2 separate regions of the Homo sapiens genome follow, and region 2 is linked to region 1. Evidence: promoter capture Hi-C in human tissues and cell types (Jung and others, 2019). All regions are on one chromosome and are shown on one strand. The core of a region is centred on a gene start or on the middle of the fragment in contact, and the rest is flanking DNA. Distances in the headings are between cores, read along the strand shown.

Region 1 (4,949 bases), core at 1,255-3,754:
TTTTCTTCTATTTCACTTAGCAAGTTCCAAAAATTTAGTACTTGAGTTATAGAAGTGGTATGGGTCTCTTCATTATGTATTATGTTGTGGCTTGCTGGTATGGCCTGTTGCCTAACATTGCAGAGATCTTCAAATATGTGCTCACAGTCAAAGTTACTGATCTTATTATGTCCCTGTTTTCTTTCCATATTTAAATCTTGGCTGTGCATATTTACTTCATAAAAATTTTCATTAATGTATCCTCGGTTGTTCTGTATAAATTGAGGACAAGAATTACCATGTGCTTTAACAGTACTAGAATTATAGTGAGCCCAATTTTCCACATTCACAACTTGTTGAGGACAACTCATATTCTGACAAGTAATTTCTCTTATTAAAGAAATTTCATCCATGTCATCAAAGTCCATTAAAAGGGGAATTTTTTCATATGTTTCAAAAATCGGAAAACCTGTATTTTGAGTTGTCATACTGAAGGAATTAATGAGTTTTTTCTTAGACTTTTCAAAAACTTGTTCAGTTCTAAATAACTTCCTTTTCTTTAACATAGGTTTCATATTATCTTCTAATAGTCTTGAAGAAGTTAAAATCTTTACTAGATATGCAGTATGATTTTCCACTATATTTTTTGGATACTTCAAATAAAGCATGCACTTGAAAATGCATTCCTCTTCTAATTCAAAATCATTTTCAATTCTTGTTAAAGAGTCAAAGTTATTGAGCAAAAAAGCTATGTTAGTTTTCAATAGAATATCTAAAGGTTCTGAAACACTATCTTGTAAATATATGCTTAAAATTCCATTCTTTATATTTGTATTCATGTTTCTGGTTATTAGATTTTGAATACCAATTATACCAATTTGCTTTTTACACTTCAAAATGTTACAGCAGGTTAAAATACTATTATCTTTTTTATTTCCTGAAATACTTTTATGGAAATAAAAAATTTCTATAATGAAACTTTCAAAAGGGTTGTTCACATGAAAGACTTTTTGTGTAGTATTGTATCTCAACTGTAGAGTATTATCATTTTCTCCTTTACCATTTAGCCAAACAGTCGTTATTAAAGCTGTCTGACTACCTAATATTTCTCTTACGAGAAGCTTTGATTGTTCTTCATATGCATTGATGACTTTTGCACAGTGGTAATCTTCCTTGCTTAAAAGGTCTATTTCTAATAATAATAGCCAATTCCATTTTTCTTCAGTTTTTTTCATATTTTCACATTTAGTCTTGCAATTATTTATAATCCAACAATTTCCTCTATTTCTTCTCAAAATATGTCTAACGTTACAGTCCCAGTTTTGAGATTTTTCCAGCCTGGTAAGTACGTAACTGTCCAGACATTCTGCTTCCTCCCAATTTGCATTTTCTAGTATAGCGAAATTCTTTCTAGAGTCTCTTACATTACACTGGATACTACTGCAGTTACAGTAGTTTGAACTGATCAAGTCTTTTCTCTTACAAGTATTTTGGCTACTGAGTGATGGGTAGTCATTTTCATAACATTTGGAAAAAATGTTTTCCGCTTCTACAGTTTTTTTATCATTCTGTAACTTTTGCTTCTTAACATCAGGTCTATTTTGGGACCAGTAAATGTTTGTGAAATCCCTAACATATGCCTCTTTTTTGTCATTCTTTTTCTTCGCTATTTCCTTTAAATAGACAGAGGACATTTTGCTATTTAAGTCCATTGGAAACTGAGGGACACTTATTGTGCCGCTATCTCTAAAATAGCTAGGTTTGGCAATTTCCAAGCTGGGCTGGTTTTGAGATTTTGATATTTTTAGTACAGATGATGAAATGTTATTTTCTCTTTTATTTGATGGCACAACACTGTTAGCTTTACATCTGTTCTTAATTTCATGAAATGGTGATTTAGTTTCCTTGTAAAAGGTAACATCTAAAAATGGATTTTCTTTGTGAACATTGTCTCTTCCTTGGACAAACTGTTGTTTTCGATTCTCATTTCTAATTCCATGTATATCGTGTATAGAGGTGCTGGGCAGAAGTTGACTAACCCCTGCTTTGGAGCTATTACTGCGGTGCACACTGAAAGCCTCTCTGTCATGCAGGCCTGCCTCAGACCTTCCTGAAGCCCTCAAATCAGAATCAGGACTTTGTGAGGGGGGAGACTGCAAACAGCTACTCATTTGGAATTTGAGATTTGAGCATTTCAGATTACATATCTGCTTCCCACTGACTGATTTCTCCACACACGAGTCTGTGGAGTTATCGAAAATAGCATTCGTTGAAACAAGGAGTCCCTTGAAGGGTCTAGGGGACAACTCCCAGACTTTTTCCGCCTCAGACAAGCGAGGCACCAGAGGCAGTCGCCAGCCCGCCTTAAAGACACCTCCAGGCTCCTCAAGACAGAGCCGCTTGCTACTAGGTGGTTGGGAATCCGGGTCCTCAGGAGGCGTTAAAGAGGAGGTAGGCTTTCTGAGCTCGGCCATCCGCGGCGTGGGCTGAGGGAGAGACATGACAGCGAATGGAAAGGATCTGTCCGAGTCCCGGCGGGGCTCCAATCCCTTAATAGGCGGTTCCGGGCCGCTCTGGTCACGCCCCTGACCCGCCCCTCAAGACCTGGCCTTAGCCTAATCTCAGGGTTTGCCCCACCCCGAATCCGCCCCTCCACAGCCCCAGCCTCAGCCCCGCCCCGCCTCCCTCAGTCCCTCCTCTCCCTGCCCCCACCCACGCGCCCCGGTTGTCTCACCACTGAAGGTCGGAGCACCCTGGGCCGTTACATTGTCTATTTTTAGCGCCTTTTTCTAATGCCACGACTGTAGAGAGTCTAAATGCTTTTTTCCCTGTGGTAGAACGAAGGGGAAAAGTTAGAACCTCTCACTTAAAAAAAAAAAATTTGTGAATGGTAACAACTTTATTTTCTAAATTCTAAAATTTTGTTTACCTCAGAAACGGCATCTCCACAACGGCTCGAGTGACTCTCCAGTAAAATCGTGTAGTTCTGTCAGCACCAGACCAAATCTCTCTGTGTATGGAAAAACTTTTTAATCCTTCCAGCGTCACTTAAGATCATATTAATATTTCCACTTCACTAATAAAGTGTGTTTGGGGGAAAAAAGCCACCAGTACTTACCAGTCTATCTGAGGAAAAAATGTGTGGAAATTATTATCCGGATAATTATTATTCTTCACTTAAGACTAAAAAAAAAATAGTTTACTATGTGCTGTGGGGATTTCTTCTCAAATATTGTGGATAAAATTATTTAGAGATAAAATATTATATGTTTGAACTACCCCATTTAGTGTAAACATAATAATACAGGTCTGACTCATACCTACTAACAAATTTTTAGACGCTATTTCTTGTTTTTTTTTTTCCTGCTTTGAGAATCATTTATGATTTCCAGTCAATTCTGGTTTTTGTGAATTCTATAATCATTAAGAAGAAAATGTTTTTCAAAATGTTTATTATTATTATATACATGTTTCTTAAGAAACATGTAACTGGTGCTCAGTAATAAACACCTCGATTCCCTTGGTGGTTGTTTCAAGCTTGGTATGTTTTATATTACATTTTATGCTAAAATTTATAATAACTACAATAACATGCAACCAGAATCCTAACTTCAGAACCCTCCCATGGCATAGATGGCAATATATAACTAGCCTTCTACTTTAGGTAATAAGATGTTCACCAGTTTCATGTTTTTTAAATACTCTTAGATACATTGTGATTACTTCAGTGTAAATTCCTCTAGAGAAATGTTTACTTAAGTTTGTAGAAAGCCTTGCAGCAGAAGCACTTCATTAACACTATAAATAAGAATGTGGCAGTGGTTCAGATTCCACATCAGTGAATTCTCCAAGTTCTACTTCTGTGTATCTTATGTTCTATTGCTTTTCTATCCCAGATTTTCCACAAATCTATATTCTTTTCTAATCCATTCTGTTTTAGCCCATAAGGGGTGACTTGTATAGCTAAGGTGTATATAATTGGTGCGCTAGTGTGATATTAGGACCAAGACTTTTTAAATCTGTAAAGTAAATGCCATTGATTGTGATTTCTAGTCTAGATTGATCTGTAACTTGATATTTGATTATTTCTTCATCTTGCTAGTTTGCCCAAGAGCACATTATTTTTTATATCTCCATCACATCATTATTTAACAACTCTACATTGTTTAAGGATTAAAATTCAAATAAAACCCAGAAGTATTACATGTAACTCAACAATTGTTTGACTCCAAGATACAGAAATGTATAGTTATTTTCTCCATCCTGAAGAAACTTACAGCCATAAAGACCAAAAAAAGAGTCTTTTCTTGCATTTACTTATTTAAACATTATACTAATGGCCACTGCCATTTCAAACAATGGCTATTGAAACCACTATTTATGTGGGTTTTTTCCTTTGTTTTTTTAAATGCCACCTAGAAAATGAACCAGTTATAAGTGAGAAATGCAAAAAATTATGTCTTCAACTCATCATAATCAAAATATAAATAAGACTTGTCTGAATCTTACTGATGCCTCAAAGCCCATTTCAAATGTCATATTTTTCTATATCACTTTACCCAACCCTTCCTTTGAAGTTCTTACCTTCCTTAGTAACAGTAAACTGAGCTTTAAAGACAGCATCTATCTGATTTCTTTTAGCGTGGTGTCTTCTTATAGTTCAACTCTGAATGAATAAAAGGATTAATGAGTTCATGAGATAAACCCCATACTGAAGATATGACACAATCTCCTATTAGAGTTAAATCAGAAATTTACTCAATATCAATATCAAGTCTAATGTCCTTAAGCATAGTATGTCACATCCTCACTACTAGGTCCTACTTAACTCTTTCAGCTTCTTTTTTTTTTTTTAAACAATTTGCCCCCATGCTGCCTACACCAGAATGTTTATTTTCTTGCTCTTTTATGTATGTTCTCAAAGCCCTTCATTTCTCCTCCTGGCAAATTCTTATTAAGCCTTAAATGGC
Region 2 (5,350 bases), core at 1,016-3,515, 150 kb after region 1:
GTTTTGGGATTAAATGGTCTAGACCTGTGGCTACATTTTCTGAGTTAAGTAACAGTAAAAGAAAATCAAAGTGTTCCTCAATTCCCTTGAAAATTCCTAAAAGTTGAAATCATTGACATATGAACATGTATATTTTAAAGGTCTTAATTTAATACTATATGTGGTGCCGGGCGCAGCAGCTCATGCCTTTAATCCCAGCACTTTGGGAGATTGAGGCAGGTGGATCACTTGAGGCCAGGAGCTCGAGATCAGCCTGGCCAATATGGCAAAACCCAGTCTCTACAAAAAATACAAAAATTAGCCGGGCATGGTGGTGCACACCTGTAATCCCAGCTACTCAGGTGGCTGAGTCACAAGGATCAATTGAATCCAGGAGGCGGAGGTCGCAGTGAGCTGAAATCACGCCACTGCACTCCAGCCTGGGTAACAGAACGAGACTGTGTCCTGAAAAAAATAAGTAAATAAATAAAAAATAAAACTGTATGTGGCAATACAGCATGGTGATTTAGAACAAGGGCTGTGGAGTCAAAATGGGATACACATCCTGGCTATATTGCTCAATGGCTCTGATTATAACAATTCCATCAGGCATATCTGCTGTGAGAGGCCTATTATTTTATAACAAAACTGCCAAAGTACCAAAAAAAAATTTGTTTTCCTTGGATTAGCTCACAGAACTTGGATACATTCTTCTGAATAATTTCATTGGGGCAAAGTGCCACTCTGATTAAGAAGCTCTAAGTTTCTGAAAGAGAAAGGAGCTGCTTAGAATTAAATCTGACATACAAGATGAGTGATAAGACTGCACAGCACCATTCTGGACAAAAACACTGCATGGAAAGAATAATCATCTTCTATGACTCGTGATTAGCTCTGAAGACAATTCTTGGAGGAATATCTAACCCATTTTCAGCAATAGTATCATAGAAAAAAATTGACACTGAACTATTATACAGCACTCACAGGTATAAATTCTGATTCACGAATACACACTTACTAAACGGTCATTATAGACTAGGCATTAGGAGACATAAACATCTCAGACATAGCTGATAACCTCAAAATGGTTACAATCTGGTAGGGGATTCAGATATAAAAATGGGCAACTGCAACAGAATAAAAAACAGTATAAAATATTATATAATAATATAAAGCATTTTTATATTTTTATCTTAAATAAAAGTATAAAAGTAATATATATTATGAGTTGATGTAAGGTGGTGCAAAGGAAGTTCTGAGAAGTTCCTCATCCTGCCTGATAGGGTATGGTGGTCACAGAAGTCTCATAAAAGTGGCATTTGAACAATGTCCTGAAAGATGAGTAGAGTGACATGTGATTAAGGAGGGCATACCAGGCAGAGGCACCATGTTTGGAGAATTACAAATAGCTTAGAACAGCTGAAAAAAGCAGGCAGGTACGATATCATGAAGGGTCTCAAAGCTACCCTACAGAATTAAACATTTATTCCATATATAATAACCTCCAAAGGGTTTTACATAGGTGAATGACCACCATCAGATCAACTGTAGAAATGTAAACCTGCCAAAATGGTGGAGGACGGACCGAAGAAGGAGCCACATGCAAGCCTGGGAGTCCGGAGAAGAGGCTATCACCACAGGTATGAGGCGAAGATAAGGGGATGAGAGGAAGAATATCAGTGAGAAAGGAGAAGAGGGCAGAGACCAAAGAGCGGTCTTAAAGGAGAAGCGGACAGAGGTCAGACTTGAACAAGGAAGAATCAAAGGTAAATCACAGATGTCAAAGGTAGGTGACTGCGCTGGAAATGACAGTTTGCATTAATCAAGGTAGGGAATTCAGGAAAAGAAAGAGGCTTTGAGATGAAGGCACTTTCAACCTCGGGGCTGCTGAATTTCAGATATTGGTGGTTTACCAGGTGATGTCTAATAGGTAGTAGGGCATCTGGGTCTAGAGTACAGGAGAGATGTCAGGATGTGGTGCTATGAGTTGATAGGTATCTGTCCATACGCAGGTAGTAGTTTTGGGGACTGTGATATGTGTATATTTGTAGGGGGAAGTAGGATATGGAATTCAGGAAAATCAACAACACTATAACAAGCAAACAAAGATCTCAAACGTTTAAGGGCAACAGAATTAGGGGAGGCAGCTTGGCAGATTAAGAACAAATAATAGAAAAACAGGAAAACCAGGAAAGAGAGGGTGGCAGCTGGTAAGAAGACATTTTAAGGGATGGAGGATAGGTCTGTGGTGTCAAATACTTCAAAAAATAAGGTAAGATTAAAGCTCATTTATAACCTTTGCTAAACAAGTTTTGCTAGAGTAGTGTCATCTACATCCAGATTACAGTAGATTGAGCAAACAATGAGATATGAAGAAGAAAATAATTGCTAATTTATGAGAACTTACTATATGCCTGAACCACAGTAAGTATAATGTATGAAAGACACCATTTGAGCCTCACTCTAACCATGAGAGGTAGGAATTGGTAATAATATTGTTTTGTAGATGAAGAAATTGAGACCCAATAAGTAGAGATATTTTGCCTGTCAGAGGTAGGTCTCAAATCCTATGCTTTTTAACTGGAAATTCAAAAGTTCTTGCTCGCTTATGTTCTGTACATTGTTCTGAAATGTGTGGGTATGAAGGAACAGTAAACAGTGGCTAGGGTGAGTCAAAGCCAGGGTGGTGAACAGGTTATAATTTTGTATTAAAACAAAAAGTCTGAACATATTTATGGGTTGATGAAAATAAGCTGGGAGAGAGGGTGAGGGAGAAAACGCAGATATGATGGAAGGCACGGATATCCATGCTGGGCGAGAAGAGGAGGACCCCTCCAGGGTCTCTAGGGTTACTGTGTGCCTAGAAGCAAGGGAGAGAACTCTAGTTCTTTAGTTCTTCCCCACTACTGGTCACAGACTAAAGAGTCAGGGCAGGATCTTTCCTGTTAGGGGTAAAACTAAAGAAAGATTTCCTTCCTTTAGAAATACATGTTTCAAACAAACAAAAAAATGAAAAAGAGAATTTAAAATTTAACAATACCATGTAGACATCAAATTCATCCAGGCATCTGAAAGGAGATTCTGCGATGGACCACAGGGAAAGAATAAAACACACTGTGGAGAAAGAACGTTCACCTCCAGACAAGGCTCTCATGTCATTGAAAGCAGCTTTATTTCCTTCTCCAGGCTGAACCTTGAAGAGAATGAGTTGACAAGGAACAAAAAACTAAGTAAATGAAAGGCCAGATTAAATTCTTTACAAGACAGATAAATAATAGATTTACAGTAAAAAGGAGATGGGAATAAAATGACTTAGTGATTTGGAAATACCCATTCCTTTCAAAAAATTTTACAGTAAAACAGTTATACGTATAATGGTACTTCTTGCTCTACTGCAAGAGAATAAAACTGAAAACCTTTTTCACCATAACTGAATCTAACAGACCAAAATTCCAAAGGCTAATTTAAAAAATGTTAATAAAACAATTTTTTTTCTGAAACAGGGTCTCGCTCTGTTGAACCAGGCTGGAGTGCAATGGTGTGATCTTGGCTCACTGCAACCTCTGTCTCCCAGGCTCAAGCAATCCTCCCACCTCAGCCTCCCAAGTAGTTGGGACCACAGGAGTATGCCACCACGGCCAGCTAATTTTTGTGTTTTTTTTTTTTTTCTGGGTGGAGTTGAGGTTTCTCCATGTTGCCCAGGCTGGTCTTGAACTCCTCGGTTCAAGCAATCCTCCCATCTCAGCTTCCCAAAGTGCTGGGATTACAGGTGTAAGCCACCACACCTAACCCTGAAACTTAAGCTTCAAACATTTAAAAGTGCTGAGATTTTTTGTTACTTGAATTATAGTGACACCTAGTGGTTAAGCTGCATTAAAAGTGATTACTGAACGTCAAAAGGACAGAAATCAACTTTAAAAAGCTTACACTGGCCAAAGAAATGCATTGAAATATATCTTTTAAAAGATTTAAAGGATTGCTTTAGGAATCCTTTAAAGGAACCCTAGAAGTTCGAGACCAGCCTGGGCAACATGGGGAAACCTCATCTCCACACACACACACACAAAAATACAAAAACTAGCTGGCCATGGTGGCATACTCCTGTGGTCCCAACTACTTGGGAGGCTGAGGTGGGAGGATTGCTTGAGCCTGGGAGACAGAGGTTGCAGTGAGCCAAGATCATGCCATTGCACTCCAGCCTGGTCGACAGAGCGAGACCCCGTCTCAAAAAAAAAAAAAAAAAAAAAAAAATTTCTTTTGTATTGTATTTATTTTGAATTCTAAATAAAATCTTTTAAAATTTAAATAATTTTAAATTTCTTTTAAAAGCTAAATAAAATCTTTAAAAAATTATTTACTAAATAAAGGTCCATGGAAACAATAAGAAAGCAACTAATAAAATTAACAGCAAATCATTCACACAATTTCCTGAGAATATACAATAACATTAGGAAGGGTTCTATTTTTTTGACAAAATTCCAGATATACATATATGCATACAAGGTGAAAAAAGAGCAACAACTAGTTTCATATCAATAGCAGACATATAGCTTCCAATACTTTTCAATTCACTGTTTGAAAAGTGATACTGCTCTCAAGTGAGCATTCATTTATTTTTTAATATTAACATTATTAATATTCTAAGGTAAATATTCCAATTCTAAACATACTCTAAAATTTTACACCTATCATAAGTCTAAACAAACCAAACCAACAATCAAGCAAATAAAAATTCCCATATAAAAAAGCAAGAACTAAATACCAAGATGCAATCTTGCCCCCACACTGTATTTTGCACCAATTTAATAAATGAAGCCCCAAGTAAATCTGGGGGATCTAGCTTTTACCCTCTCATCTATTACTAACATATCATGGAACTTCAGTGTCACTTTCCTTATTAGTAAAATGAAGGCCACATAAATTAAAGATTCTTCTGGTATTCTTTTGAAAAACAGAGATGACAACATCAGAAAGTCTAGCTTGAGTTGTTTTGTATAGTTAGCTGTGGAGATAAATTATTCAAGCACTTCTAATACTTTTTTTTCTCCATTTTTTTATTACAGTAATAGTTTTTATAAAGAACACAAAAGTGTACAACTCAATTTTTACATGAATACATACACACACCTGGGTAACCACTACTGAGATCAAGACACAAGAATATCCCCAGCATCTAAGCAAACTATTTGTATATTACCATCCCTGAAAAGGTAACTATTATTCTGATTTTAATCACCCAAAATCACTCTTAACAGTTTCTGAACTTCATATGTAGAGGTTACACATACTCTTTTGTACATATACTTCAGATTTATATACACTATGTACATCCTTGTAACTGGCTTCTCTCACTCGCCATTGTCAGATCATC

What was found. Contacts are between HindIII fragments. The study calls those that stand out against the background at their distance.
Region 2: a contact is called between a fragment that was not itself captured here and the fragment with the promoter of RAD51AP2 in region 1, in 1 of the 25 tissues and cell types used here (aorta).

What each region holds. Positions count from the first base shown.
Region 1 is chr2:17,515,936-17,520,884 of GRCh38, forward strand. RAD51AP2 (RAD51 associated protein 2) reads right to left here and starts at 2,505. Exons shown (of 3, transcript NM_001099218.3): 1 at 1-2,505. The coding sequence starts at 2,480. RefSeq lists enhancers at 2,033-3,232, 2,217-2,766 and a silencer at 2,528-2,777. The HindIII fragment of the contact is 4,842 bases long and covers 1-4,247 here.
Region 2 is chr2:17,667,404-17,672,753 of GRCh38, forward strand. SMC6 (structural maintenance of chromosomes 6) reads right to left here. Exons shown (of 28, transcript NM_001142286.2): 26 at 3,020-3,172. Among named protein-coding and RNA genes, the nearest start is that of SMC6, 84 kb to the right of the region's middle. The HindIII fragment of the contact is 3,152 bases long and covers 690-3,841 here.